Linked DNA regions of Homo sapiens: all the other regions are linked to region 1. Evidence: promoter capture Hi-C in human tissues and cell types (Jung and others, 2019). All regions are on one chromosome and are shown on one strand. The core of a region is centred on a gene start or on the middle of the fragment in contact, and the rest is flanking DNA. Distances in the headings are between cores, read along the strand shown. Region 1 holds the start of ZNF66 (zinc finger protein 66). Region 2 has its middle 9.1 kb from the start of ZNF430. Region 3 overlaps LOC112268247 (a long non-coding RNA gene). Region 4 overlaps LOC105372318 (a long non-coding RNA gene).

The links. Contacts are between HindIII fragments. The study calls those that stand out against the background at their distance.
Region 2: a fragment that was not itself captured here is called in contact with the fragment with the promoter of ZNF66 in region 1 in 1 of the 25 tissues and cell types used here (hippocampus).
Region 3: a fragment that was not itself captured here is called in contact with the fragment with the promoter of ZNF66 in region 1 in 1 of the 25 tissues and cell types used here (hippocampus).
Region 4: a fragment that was not itself captured here is called in contact with the fragment with the promoter of ZNF66 in region 1 in 3 of the 25 tissues and cell types used here (H1 embryonic stem cells, adrenal gland and aorta).

The regions. Positions count from the first base shown.
Region 1 is chr19:20,774,747-20,778,231 of GRCh38, reverse strand. ZNF66 (zinc finger protein 66) reads right to left here and starts at 1,928. Exons shown (of 4, transcript NM_001355197.2): 1 at 1,782-1,928. The coding sequence starts at 1,784. The HindIII fragment of the contact is 10,177 bases long and covers 1-3,485 here.
Region 2 is chr19:21,009,784-21,013,268 of GRCh38, reverse strand. No RefSeq gene overlaps it. Among named protein-coding and RNA genes, the nearest start is that of ZNF430, 9.1 kb to the left of the region's middle. The HindIII fragment of the contact is 6,310 bases long and covers 1-3,485 here.
Region 3 is chr19:20,980,403-20,983,887 of GRCh38, reverse strand. LOC112268247 (a long non-coding RNA gene) reads right to left here. Exons shown (of 2, transcript XR_002958424.1): 2 at 1-996. Among named protein-coding and RNA genes, the nearest start is that of ZNF430, 39 kb to the left of the region's middle. The HindIII fragment of the contact is 6,593 bases long and covers 1-3,485 here.
Region 4 is chr19:20,616,283-20,619,767 of GRCh38, reverse strand. LOC105372318 (a long non-coding RNA gene) reads right to left here. Exons shown (of 2, transcript XR_936412.4): 2 at 1,673-3,485. Among named protein-coding and RNA genes, the nearest start is that of ZNF626, 44 kb to the left of the region's middle. The HindIII fragment of the contact is 5,204 bases long and covers 1-3,485 here.

The DNA of each region.
Region 1 (3,485 bases), core at 679-3,178:
GCTACTTGGGAGGCTGAGGCAGGAGAACTGCTTGAACCTGGGAGGCAGAGGTTGCGTGAGCCGAGATCACGCCACTGCACTCCAACCTGGTGACGGAGTGAGACTCTGTTTCAAAAAAATAAGTAAATAAATAAAATAATGTAGTAAAAAATTAGTCATATGGGAACACTTCTAGAAGGTACCATGTTTCATCACTTAAAATTTAGCATTTAACTCAGAAATCAAAATAAAAGGATATAGAAAAAATTTACCCTGCAAAAAGAGGAACTAATGTGTTGATGAATCCATGTAACTCCTCAATTATCTACCACATTTTCCTGTGGAAATATATTCATTGTCTACAGCCAAAATGGAAGAGAGATTTTCCCTATATTTTTCCTTGGTAACTAGCATTCCTGGCAAACATGGTGAAACCTCATCTCTACTAAAAATATGAAAACTAGCTGGGAGTGGTGGCGCTTGCCTGTAGTCCCAACTACTGGAGAGGCTGAAGCAGGAGAATCGCTTGAACCCATGAGGTGGAGGTTGCAGTGAGCCAAGATCTGACACTGCACTCTAGCCTGGCGACAGAGCAAGACTCCGTCTCAAAAAATAATAATAATAATAATAATTAATTGAGGAACATGGGGGACACTTGAGGCCCTGCTTGGGACACATGTGAAAAATGCCAGGGAAAGTCAGTCCCCTGTGGGATGTGAAAATAATTAAGTGGCAGGCAATTAGACTGAAGAGGCTCTAGTCCCCGGATTTCTATTTCTAAAAAAAAAAAAAAAAAAAAATCTAAGCTCAAGTGCATTTTTTGGCAAATTACTACATTAGGGGAAACAAAATTCAGGCTTCAGCAACTATAAACTGCCAATTAAGCTCTAATTACATAACCAGGAAATTTCCACCTTGATTGTACAAATTAAGAAACTACATTACTAAACCTAACAAATTATTGAATTTGGTTTTCCTCATCATGCATTTTATAAATGTCTTTTCTTCAAGCCTCTCCCATGGACCACAAACTACAAACTATAGCTGGGTGCTCTACAATTCTTGAATCACTCTTTGATTAAATTGTTTGATATTTTTGCAGTGACTCCCATAATTTTTTTTTTTTTTTTTTTTTTTTAGACAAGAGTCTTGCTCTGTCGCCCAGGCTGGAGTGCAGTGGCAGGATTTCAGCTCACTGCAACCTCCGCCTCCCGGGTTCAAGCGATTCTCTCACTTCTGCCTCCCGAGAAGCTGGGACTACAGACATTCGCCAACATATCCACCTAATTTTTGTATTTTTAGTAGACAAGGGGTTTCCCCATTTTGGTCAGTCTGGTCTTCAACTCCTGACCTCAAGTGATCCGCCCGCCTCGGCCTCCCAACGTGCGGGGATTACAGGCTTGAACGACCGCGCCCGGCCCCATACAATTTTAATAGCAGAAAAGAGAAACTGTGAACCCCACAGACCAAAGCTCTTCCCATTCATGAACCCGCACCGCGAGTCAGCATTCTCCCCTGAAGACCCTCCGGTGGTCCCTGCACAATCTGGGAGAGACACGGCACTGCGGGTGCAGAGCTGCCCACAGAGCGCTCCAGGCCAGGGGCACAGTCACTGCGCGGGGAAGCGACAGGACGCCCGGGGGCCAGGCTGTCAGCGTAGCCGCCATCTTATGGCTGAATGGGACTGAGGCAGAGCTGGGTAAGGAGAATTCGGGGTGCAGATTGTGGAGCTGACTGAGGGGAGGCCTGAGTCCCGCCACAGACACTTCACCTCTCTCGGGATGCTGGACCGGCACTCTCACCATTTCTAGGCTTCCAGGGGGTCCTGGCGTCTTAGCTGTGGATCTCCCAATACCTGCAGGACACAGGGCCACAGAGGCTGGGCCTCTAGGAGAAGAAGACAGAGAGCAGTGAACAGACGACCTGGAGCTCCAGCTGCAGGGAGAGACAAAGACCCCGCCAAATCCGGAAGCCGTCCTGTTCATTCCAGCTGCGTGCCTGATTGGACGGTTTCCAGCCCAGCGCCTCTGATTGGCTAATGCTTAAGGTCCCGCCCCCTCAGACACTGAGTGACAGAAGATGTGATCAGCTGCTGGGCGGAGTGAAGAAAAGAGTGACAGCCTAAGCTGCAGCCTTTTCAGGCAGGGCTTCCTCCCAGAGCTGAGCCTGGTCCATGCCAGAGCATGGGAACATTTTATCTCTTTTTTACTCTCTGTCTTGTTGAATGTATTCAAAGGTGAACAGAAGTATTTTGCTGTCATATTAATAATACATAAAATTTTTGTTCAAGAGAAAATCAGCTTTTACTTTGGTAATAGTGTATTAACGATTAAAGCTAATTTTAATAAAACCTTATAAATAAATCAAATTTGTCATTTTTGACCACTCCAGATTTACATATATATTTTGTAATCCCTGTAATTTTTTTATCTATTTATATTTTATTTTTATCCACATTCTTCTTATTTTTTCAACTTGAAACAACCTTTAAGTAATTTCAAACTGCTATAAGAGATAGAAATAATTTAGGGTCAGGCACAGGTAGCTCATGCCAGTAATCCCAACACTTTGGGAGGCCAAGGTGGGTGGATCACTTGAGGTCAGGAGTTCAAGACTAGCCTGGCCAACATGGTGAAACCCCATCTCTACTCACAATGTAAAAAATTAGCTGGGTATGGTGGTGCACATCTGTGGTCCCAGCTACTCCGGAGGCTGAGGCAGGAGAATCACTTGAACCCAGGAGGTGGAGGTTATGTAACAGCCCAAGGGGTTCATTTTGCCCTTTGCCTAGACAGAGCCAATTCATGAAGACAGGAGAATTTATGGAGGAAAAGTTAAATGTTAAATTTGAACTCAATTGAACGTGGACACAATGGTCACCAAGTCCCAGAACAGGTCCTGGTTGTGAGCCCCTGAGGTGTTCATCCAGAGCTGTATCAAAGAAATGTCTATTTCATTCTATTACTATACATTAGTTGTTGAAAAACAATAGACAATCACAAAAACAACTTGACCCTTTTGTGTTCCGTGAGGCAAGTCCCAAATGGCCCTCCTCACTGGGCCTTATGCCAAACAACTCGTTACAAAAGAGCTAGGGTCCCAGACCACCCTGAAGCTTCATGAGACTCCTTGTCTGTGCATGAATGGGTGGCCGACTCTGGAGCCTGGGCTGTTTCTTCCTACTCAGTTGGTAATCCTCCATAGTCTAGTGAGGGTAAATATATATATATATCTTTTCCCATCTCCTCTTCTTACTGCAATTTGCTTATTATATCAATCTGTGTATTATATTTATTTGCTTATTATATCATTTGCTTATTATATCATTAGTTTATTCTGTCTGCATTGATATTGATGTGGGTTAAAGCTTGTTTACCATTAAAGTTATTGTATGTATGTCTTTTCTTCTCCTCTCCCACGTTTCCCATACAGAACATTTTTGGCATCACAAACAGGATTTGAAAACAAAAGTGGGCCCCTTTTTGACCAGAAGGATAGGGCTGGAG
Region 2 (3,485 bases), core at 324-2,823, 240 kb before region 1:
ATCTCGGCTCACTGCAAGCTCCATCCCCCGAGTTCATGCCATTCTCCTGCCTCAGCCTCCCGAGTAACTGGGACTACAGGTGCCTGCCACCATGCCCGGCTAATTTTTTTTTTTTTTTTTTGTATTTTTAGAAGAGACGGGGTTTCACCGTGTTCGCCAGGATGGTCTCAATCTCCTGACCTTGTGATCCACCCGCCTTGGTCTCCCAAAGTGTACATGAAGTTTGGATTGTCTTCTCAGGATTATATGTTTGAGAGGAAAAAAACGGTCCTAACCTATTTTGGTAGTTAGGACAGTCACCACACACACACACACACACACACACACACACACACACACACATTTAATTTATATTTAACTTAGATTATTATTATGTATTTTTTTGAGATGGAGTTTCACTCTTATTGCCCAGGCTGGACTGCAATGGCACCATCTCAGCTCGCTGCAACCTCTGCCTCCCAGGTTCAAGTGATTCTCCTGCCTCAGCCGCCCAAGTAGCTGGGATTACAGGAGTGCACCACCACACCCAGCTAATTTTGTATTTTTAGTAGAGACAGAGTTTCTCCGTGTTGGTCAGGCTGGTCTTGAACTCCTGACCTCAGGTGATCTGCCCACCTCGGCCTCTGAAAGTGCTGGGATTACAGGCATGAGCCACTGTGCCCCGCCAACTTAGACTATTTTTTATCTCTTCTGTGGCGAGTGATAAAATGCAGTGCTTTTGATAAAGGAAGCTTTAAGAACTCAGGAATGAAAAAAGTCACTGCTGTCTAGGTTCTCTATGAGTTCACACTTAACATTAAATTTATGTCCTCTTAAATATCAAGTTTGTTTCTTCAATTTAGGTTCATAGCACTGATAACTGAGAGGTTATCATAGGTAATCTGACTTGGAACACACAGTTTACTCAAATGGCACATCTAAAAAATTTCAGTACTGGCTGATTTAGTATAAAAATGTGGCAGAGTATTTTCATAATGTATAATTCATTTTTGTTTTGCCTGGATTACTAGTTTTATTTTTTATATATATTTTTTGAGACAGAGTCTCACTCTGTGGCTCAGGCTGGAGTGCAATGGCACAATTTTGGCTCAATGCAACCTCCGCCTCCCAGGTTAAAGTGATTCTCCCCTCAGCCTCCCAAGTAGCTGGGACTACAGGCATGCACCACTATGCCTGGCTAATTTTTGTATATATATATATTTTTTTAAGTCTCTTTTTTTTCCCCATAAGTTACTGGGCTACAGGTGGTATTTGGTTACATTAGTATGTTCTTTAGTGGTGATTTGTGAGATTTTGTTGCACCCATCACCTGAGCAGTAGAGCAGTATACACTGCACCATATTGGTAGTCTCTATCCCTCATCCCCCTCCTACTCTTTCCCCAACATCCCCAAAGTCCATTGCATCATTCTTATGCCTTTGTGTCCTCATAGCTTAGCTCCCACATCTCAGTGAGGACATTCAATGTTTGATTTTCCATTCCTGAGTGACTTCACTTAGAATAATAGTCTCCAATGTTATCCAGGTCACTGCAAATGTTAATTCATTCCTTTTTATGGCTGAGTAGTATTCCATTGTGTGTGTGTGTGTGTGTGTGTGTGTGTGTGTATATGATGATATATATATATGATGTGTATATATATATATGTATATATGATATGATTCTTTCCTTCATCTTAACGTTAGATAACCTGATGACAATGTGATTAGGTGATGATCTTTTTGTGATGAATTTCTCAGGTATTCTTTGTGCTTTTTGTATTTGAATGTCTAGGCCTCTGGCAAAACCAGGTAAGTTTTCTTCAATTATTTCCCCAAATATGTTTTCCAAACTTTTAGATTTTTCTTCTTTTTCAGAAAAACCAATTATTCAGGCTTCTTTAAGGTTTTGTTCATTTTTTTTTGTCTTTGCTGGATTGTGTTAATTTGAAGATCTTGTCTTTGATCTCTGAATTTCTTTCTTCTACTTGTTCAATTCTATTGCTGAGACTTTCCAGAGCATTTTGCATTTTTATAAGTGTGTCCAATATTTCCTGAGGTTCTGATTGTTTTTTCTTTATGCTATTTCCTTGCATATTTATCCCTTATTTTTATTTTATTTACTTATTCATTATTATTTTTTATTATTTTTATTTATTATTATTTTTTGAGATAGAGTTTCACTCTTGTTGCCCAGGCTGGAGTGCAATGGCACAATCTTGGCTCACCACAACCTCTGCCTCCCGGGTTCAAGCGATTCTCCTGCCTCAGCCTCCTGAGTAGCTGGGATTACAGGCATGCTCCACCACACCTGGCTAATTTTGTATTTTTAGTAGAGATAGGGTTTCTTCACGTTGGTCAGGCTAGTCTCGAACTCCCGACCTCAGGTGATCCATCCACCTCAGCCTCCCAGAGTGCTGGGATTACAGGCATGAGCCACCAACCCAGCCTATTTTTAATTTTTTTGAGATGGAGTCTTGCTCTGTCGACCAGGCTAGAGTGCAATGGCGCAATCTTGGCTCACTACAACCTCTGCCTCCCGGGTTCAAGTGATTCTCCTGCCTCAGCCCCCTGAGTAGCTGGGATTAAAGGCTTGCACCACCACGCCTGGCTAATTTTTGTATTTTTACTAGAGACGGGGTTTCACCATGTTGGTCAGGCTGGTCTGGAACTCCTGACCTCGTGATCTGCCCACCTCTGTTGTAGCAGGATGAGACACAGACAAGAACCCCTCAGACACCGAGTTGCAGAAGGAAAGGGCTTTATTCAGCTGGCAGCATTGGAAGACTCACATCTCCAAAAACTGAGCTCCCTGAGTGAGCAATTCCTGTCCCTTTCAAGGGCTTACAACTATAACGGGGTCCGCCTGAAAAGGTCATGATTGATTGAGCAAGCAGAGGGTATGTGACTGGGGGCTGCATGTACCACTAGTCAGAACAGAACAGAACAGGATAGGGATTTTCATGATGCTTTTCCATACAATGTCTGAAATCTATAGATAACACAAGCAGTTAGGTCAGGGGTGGATTTTTAACTAGCAGGCCCAGGGCATGATGCTGGGCTATCTGCCTGTGGATTCCATTTCTGCCTTTCAGTTTTCACTTCTTCTTTCTTTGGAGGCAGAAACTAGGCATAAGACAATATGAGGGGTGGTCTCCTCCCTTTTTCCCCCCGTTTGAGAACCTCTCTCATTAGTGGAAGTTCTCACCTTTATCCTCACTACTCATGTCTTCCTGTAAGACAGATCGATAGTGATTCATATAGTACACTTGTGCTGAAGCATTTTGGTGAACTAAGGTAGCGATGAAGCTTTTTATCATTTGAAGAAGTACATAGCAAACAAGGGAGCAGTAAGCATGTTTTTATTACTATTATAACTCCTACTATAAGAGTTTTAAATCCTCCTAGTGCTGGGAACCATTTTTCAAACATGGCCCCAGGATTAAATCCATGCCACACTTGCGCAGGCACATGTGCCAGTTTTGTCATGTCTCTAACTATGTCTTC
Region 3 (3,485 bases), core at 321-2,820, 210 kb before region 1:
TTCTGCAGTAGAATCTTCCTTCCAAGATTTTCTTGCTTGCTGAGTAAACTATGTTAAGTGTTTGTATGTGTCTCAACTTTCTGTCACCACCCAGGGAAGGAACAGCAGGGGCACTGTCCTCGCTCATATTTTGCTGTGAGGAAAGCAATGAAGGTCTTCTGAACTTTGTGAAGGTATCTTCTGCCTTCATGTCAAATCCAGCCCCCAACTCCAAGCATCCTTGCATGGTTTCTTCATGTCCAATCAAGATGGGCTTTCATTTGTAATCTACTGCAATTGTGCCTGCCACATGCAGTTTCAAGGTATCCTCATACACCTGCTCACAATGATCCTCCAGGAATAGAATGAGCTCCTGAGAGAGGAACTCAGGAGTATGCTGGGCTCTTCATGTATTTTTTTTTTTTGAAACAGAGTCTCGCTCTGTCACCAGGTTGGAGTGTAGTGGCACGATCTCAGCTCACTGCAACCTCCACCTCCCAGGTTCAAGCGATTCTCCTGCCTCAGCCTCCTGAGCAGCTGGAACTATAGGCACGCCTGGCTAATTTTTTTTTTTGTATTTTTCAGTAGAGATGGGGTTTCACCGTGTTAGTCAGGATGGTCTCGATTTCCTGACATCATGATCTGCCCCCCTCGGCCTCCCAAAGTGCTGGGATTACAGGCGTGAGCCACCGCACCCAGACTCTTCATGTATTTCTATTATGTTTCTCTCTCCACTCTTAAAGAGGGCTGTGGACACAGAGTAAAGAAGGAGACACTAAAATTCCAAAGTCTGGGTACGGTTTCAACCCTGCAGGTATCTGATCTTTGCCTTCATTCCTCCTGTTAGTCTTAGTAAAGAGTCCTGGAGTCTGCAGTTCCCAAGCCTTCCTTGGTTTCAGGTTCTGCTTGTCCTTATTTGGTTCAGGGGCTGTGGGACAGGACCACATTAGAGCACTTCACTGGGTACCTCCTGGTCCTGGCCATGTGCCCTAAGACCTGGTGGTTCTTGCACTTTCTCTGTGGATTGAGGAGAAAGGAGGTCAGTGAGTCAGTATCATCACAGGCAGCTTTCAAAGGTTAATGTTGCAACAGTTTTTTGGATCTGTTTATTATTTTTAGGACTAGACCCAGACAAGTACCATACTGGGTTTCTAAAGATTCATGATGTAGGCTACGTGTGGTGGCTCATGCCTGTAATCCCAGTGCTTTGGGAGGCCAAGGCGGGCGGATCATGAGGTCAGAAGTTTGAGACCAGCCTGGCCAACATGGCGAAACCCCATCTATACTAAAAATACAAAAAATTAGCTGGGTGTGGTGGCAGGCGCCTGTAATCCCAGCTACTCAGGAGGCTGAGGCAAGAGAATCGCTTGAACCTGGGAGGTGGAGGTTCCAGTGAGTTCAGACCACGCCACTGCACTCCAGTCTGGCTAACAGAGCTAGACACCATCTCAAAAAAAAAAAAAAGTTTCATGATGTAATAGTTATATCCACAACCTATTTTAAACAAAGAAACAAGAACAAAGAACCAAAATGTGTTAGGGTTGTGATAATAATCTAGCCAAATTTGTCAGCTCAGATAGTGAATGCTGAGCAAATTCTACAGAAGACAATGTAGCACCCAGGATGACTGAGGGAGGGTGAGGTAGAGGAGAAGCTTGCTTCTCCAGCTGGGCTCTTTGCTGCCTTAGGAATCAGTGGTTGATTGAGTTAGCACTGGCTCCTATCTGATCAATTCAATGTGATCACATTTGATTTAAGTATCTCTTCAACATTCAAGAGACAAAGGCATATTCTATTTGGAGTTTGGTTGTTCTGCATTTTATTTTATTGTATATTTATCAAATGCAATCAACTATAATTTGATATGTCATTTCCAAGCATTTGAAAAATTGTGACATATAGGTATACAATTTTAATGGTATATGTAATTTTCTTTTTTCTTTTTTTTTCTTTTTTTTTTTTTTTTTTTGAGACAGAGTCTCACTCTGTCACCCAGGCTGGAGTGCAATGGTGCAATCTTGGCTCACTGCAACCTCTGCCTCCTGGGTTCAACCGATTCTCTCACCTCTGCCTCCCGAGTAGCTGGGATTACAGGCACATGTCACCCACATCCAGCTCATTTTTGTATTTTTAGTAAAGCCGGGGTTTCACTACGTTGGCCAGGCTGGCCTTGAACTTCTGGCCTCAAGTGATCCGCCCGCCTCAACCTCATAAAGTGCTGAGATTACAGGTGTGAGCCACCGTGCCTGGCCTTTATGTAATTTTCTTTATGTGTACAATTTAAATATACCTGTTAATATATGGTCTGTTTAATTTAGCATTTTAAAATCTGGCCAAGGTTTTTAATAGTTCTGGGTGAAAAGAGGGCTAGAAATCAAAAGGGGATGAGTCTCTTGACTTTCAATTTTCATGCCTACTGGTTTTTTTTTTTTCTTTTGAGGCAGAGTTTCACTCTTGTCACCCAGGCTTCAGTGCAATGGCATGATCTCGGCTCACTGCAACCTCCACCTCCTGGGTTCATGCGATTCTCCTGCCTCAGCCTCCAAAGTAGCTGAGATTACAGTCACTCGCCACCACACCTGGCTAATTTTTGTATGTTTAGTAGAGATGGGGTTTCGCCATGTTGGCCAGGCTGGTCTCGAACTCCTGACCTCAGGTGATCCACCCACCTTGGCCTCCCTAAGTGCTTTGGTTACAGGTGTGAGCCACCTCACCTGGCTGGTTTTGTTATTTTGGTTTTTGATGCTATGACAGGACCCTGAAAAAATCTCCCCTTATGTGTGTCTAAGGTACCCAGTAAATCACAACCTGAAACATTCCTTATGAAGGCCATAATGTCTCCAGGAAATAAATTTCTTGTCATAAGAGTGAGCCGTACCCAGCTGAGGGGCTTATAAAAGGCAAGTCCAGCATAACACCCTGCATTCTGAGTCTGGATGTGTAAGAGAGAGGACATTTCATTTGAGTTTCAACATGGAATGGGAAACTGAAGACCAAGATCTTCTCTACCTCTTCATCCAAGGCCCCACTTGCCAGCTCCATTTTCAACAAATCTTTTTTACAGATAGAAGCTTAGATGAGGAGGAGAAACTATTTGAAAAAAGACAAGGTGCTCTCTTCCCATTCCAGTAGGTAATGCACTCAAATGCCAGATAAGGCCTTGGGCTGTTCATATTAAGATCAGAAAGAGTGGTGGAATGAGGGATAGTAAGCTGTGTGTCTTTGGTAGGGTTTTATTTTGAGCTAGGGAATGAGAAATGGCTTATATCCCTGAGATGGCTTTGAGAATTGTAGTAATGATCCCTTGGAACCGTATTCTTCTCATTAACTCTTGATGCTTGCTGAACAGCCTTAGTTAAGAAAATGAACAACAAATGTAAGTCAGGAATAGACTATGGGACTCTGGATCTAGAGAGATTTGAGTCACCTAAACTTCCTTTCTGACTAGGACCAGACCACAATCCAAATAAGAAAGAGAATTACAGAAAACTAAGCTCAAAACCAGA
Region 4 (3,485 bases), core at 641-3,140, 160 kb after region 1:
ACATCACTCATGAAATTACGTTACTCATCTGTTGACTTCGTGTTTACCAAAATGGAGATTATCCTGATTGTGCTAAACTTAATCAGAAGTGCTTTTAAGAGAAAGAGACACATCATAGAAAACACCCCTGCTGGCCTGAAAGTAAGTGACTTCTAGGTGAGCCATGTTGTAAGCTGCTTATGGTGGCCACATGGCAGGAAACGTATTTGTTTATTGTCATCATTCCTGCCTTCTGCATGTTGCTTCCAGTAGGGAGAATAAGAGGATCCTATGGCAGAGGGGAAAAAAAGGGAATCTCATTCATGCAAGAAATAATCACCTCTCACCTGGGATAGCTTAAGAAAAACAGGAGACCACAACAGGTCCACATTAATGAAAGGAAAAAGGTAACCTGGGTAAAAGTGCTCACTGGCATTATGGAACTACATTTAGTAAGCTGTAGTGAATGATCAGCCTCTGGGATACCAATAGTCTACCAACAAGGCTGAACTCATTCTAATTCAATCAGCATGTCTGCACCATTCTGGCGACCTAGTTTTATACTATTCATTACAGAAATACCATGAAGACCAGTGGGTAATGTCCTAGAGTTGAACTTACATCAAATCATACCTAACTGTTTTCATATTTGAAAAACCTTAAAAACAATGAATTCATAATTCTATTGTAAATGATTTTACTATACTGTAGTAAATGATTAAACTGTAAACAATATGAATAATTCTTGAAAGCATAATTATGTAGACAGTTTCTTTTAGATTAACATGATAAAACAATTAAAGAAAACATTCCAAATGGGATAAAATTAATCAAAACTGCATATTTTCAATGACTTGGCTTAATTATCATGCTTTTGGAAATGGCCAGATGACTAACAAGAAATAAAAACAAGATTTTGACTTTGCTCATTGTTTTTGACCTTTTGAAGTCTAAAATCCTGGCTAAAGTATTCAAAGGGAGTATTTTATAGTTGGCTTCCTGGGGTTTCCAATGCAATAAAGAATTTTGATAGGAAAATGCACACTATATACACATTGCTCTTCTCTGATTTGCTTTAACGCTGAAAAATTGAACATTTTAAATGTAGTCTCAACTTAGAGTAAATTAACAAAAGATTTGTTTTTCAAAAAAAGCAAATGTATAAAATTAATAGGTAACAGACACCATTAGCTGCTCAAAAATAGTATGACTAAATTCAGTAAGTAGCTATGCAAATATCAGCCCAATTAAATGAAGACCCTAATAGGTGCATGTGGAAAGCATTGCTGTGCAGTGTGGTGCCTCCACTCAGCATTTTCTTCTGCCTCTTTACAGAGAAACCAGTTTCCCCTGAGTGACTCAGGGTGCATACTGGGAACTGAGAATGCTGTGTTCAGAGTGATTACTGAAAACATGGTTAATACACTTCTTTCATATGATAATAAAATGTTACAAATCTTATTCTGCCTCAGAAAAGCTTTTAGTTAAAGATTATCTGTAGTACTCAATTTAGCTTAATGGAAAATGTAAGTACTCCAGATAATTCAGACACTTAATGAAATCCCATAAAACATATTTGAATAAGATAAAGTCTTCTTGGCTAACAATTTTATATTACAGGTAAATTTAGAAAAAAGTAGAAAAACAGTACTTTTATTGCAGTAAACTGAGGAATTAAGAGACCAATACGGAGTACAGGAGGATTTTTTATTTTAGTTGTGCACCGGCTCAGAGGATTCACATCCAAAAGCTGAGCATTGAACACAGAGTGGGGTTTTTATAAGCGGCCTTTCAGAAGCAAAACAAAAGCAGTTAATCATACAATGACAGGTCATGTAATCTATAGTATAACATTACTTGTGACCTAGCCAGTGGCCTTGTAGCTGCATTAGAAGGAAAACAAGAACTGGCGAAATACAGACATTTGTAAAACATAATCCTGCTTAAGAAGCCTGGGAAAAGAGTAACAGTAAAATAACTTGTCTTTCTCTTTTTTTTTTTTTCCTTCCTTCAACCTTGCTCTGGAAGGGAGGGGGGTGCCTGGAGTCCATTCCTTTGGCCTTGGCTGTACAGACAGCGTTATCTTCTAACTGTTCTTGAAGTGAGCTGCTAGGCAGAGGAAAACGTGTTCTTTTCTTTTTAATCCTTGTCTTGCCACATTCTGGGCCTTAGCTTTTACTTTTCTTGGAGTGAATAATTGTAATACTTATTATTTTTAAATGCTTGCCTCAGTTTCCCCTTTCTGATGCCTTTTATGAAAGAAGTTTAATAGAAGTCATCACTATTACTTAGTTCTGCCTGAAGAGACAAGTTTTCTTCTTTAGACAAAGCTTGATATTTACACAGAGTCATGAGCTGTGTGGTAGTTTGCCTAGCTACTATTTCCTCTATAGTTGATTGAATGCTTCTAACAAGCAGATGTAAGACACAAGGGAGTATTAGGCAGTTCCTAGTATGGCCAGAACCACCCTTATTAAAATCTTGAACCCTGTGAAAAATGAAAACCAGCCTCCAAAGAGAGAATCTGGGGACCACCCTTTCCAAGTTTGAACTGGAATATGGGCTAATTTTCTCATTCTTGCAGTTATTTCCATAATTGCTTTTCCATTGTCATCAATTTCCAGGCAACAATTAGTTAGATTGAACTTTCCTCATACTCCTCCTTCCTGGGCTAGGAGGTAATCTAAAGCTAATCTGTTCTGATAGTTAGCATTTCTCATTTTTGTGGTTTGCTGGGCCAGTAAATCTAATGCATTTGCTCTTTCATTCATGATGATTTCAAGTACTGCCTGCAACCTTATGATGTGGTTAAGCATGTAAATAGGAGTGCAGTATCCCCGTGACCCATCTTGTGCCCAGGTAGCTGGCCCATAGTGTTGAATTATTCTTTCAGGGGACTTCCCTATGTCTTCCCAATCTCCTATTTTTTATATATTTTTTATGGCTGCATCTCTTTTGTTTCTTCTTCTAACTTCATCATAGACAGGATACCCTAAAGTTTTCCCCTGTTGCAGTGGGAGCAGGAAGAAAGATGGTCTAATTGTTCCAAGCACACAGCCCCCTGTCCATTTAGCTGGCAACTGTCAATATGCTTGAGGCCCACAGATCCAGTAAAGACCGGGGGTGCTTGCCAAGTATTTGGAGCTGCAAGTTGATACCAAGTGTAATTTAGAGAAGAGAAATGGGAGAACGAATTTGGATGATGTGCTTTGTAGTCATCTCTGTCCCACCACAAAGTTTTCCTTAATGGTTCATTATAATATTGCTGTCCTAAGCAGGTTTGTTCTTCTACTGGGTCTGTAAAATCCTTTCCCCAGCAAGCAACACAGTATCTCCCAATAATAGAAGTTTTTAAGAGCCAGACGCTTGAACCTGTGGGCATCTGTTTGGGAAAAGAGTCAGTCAGAGTAAAGTTATCTTGAGGCATTAACTCTTTTACTTCCCAAGGCCATTGGTCTCCCATGTTAGTCCCTTCACAAACATAACATGAGGAAACGCCTAGGCTG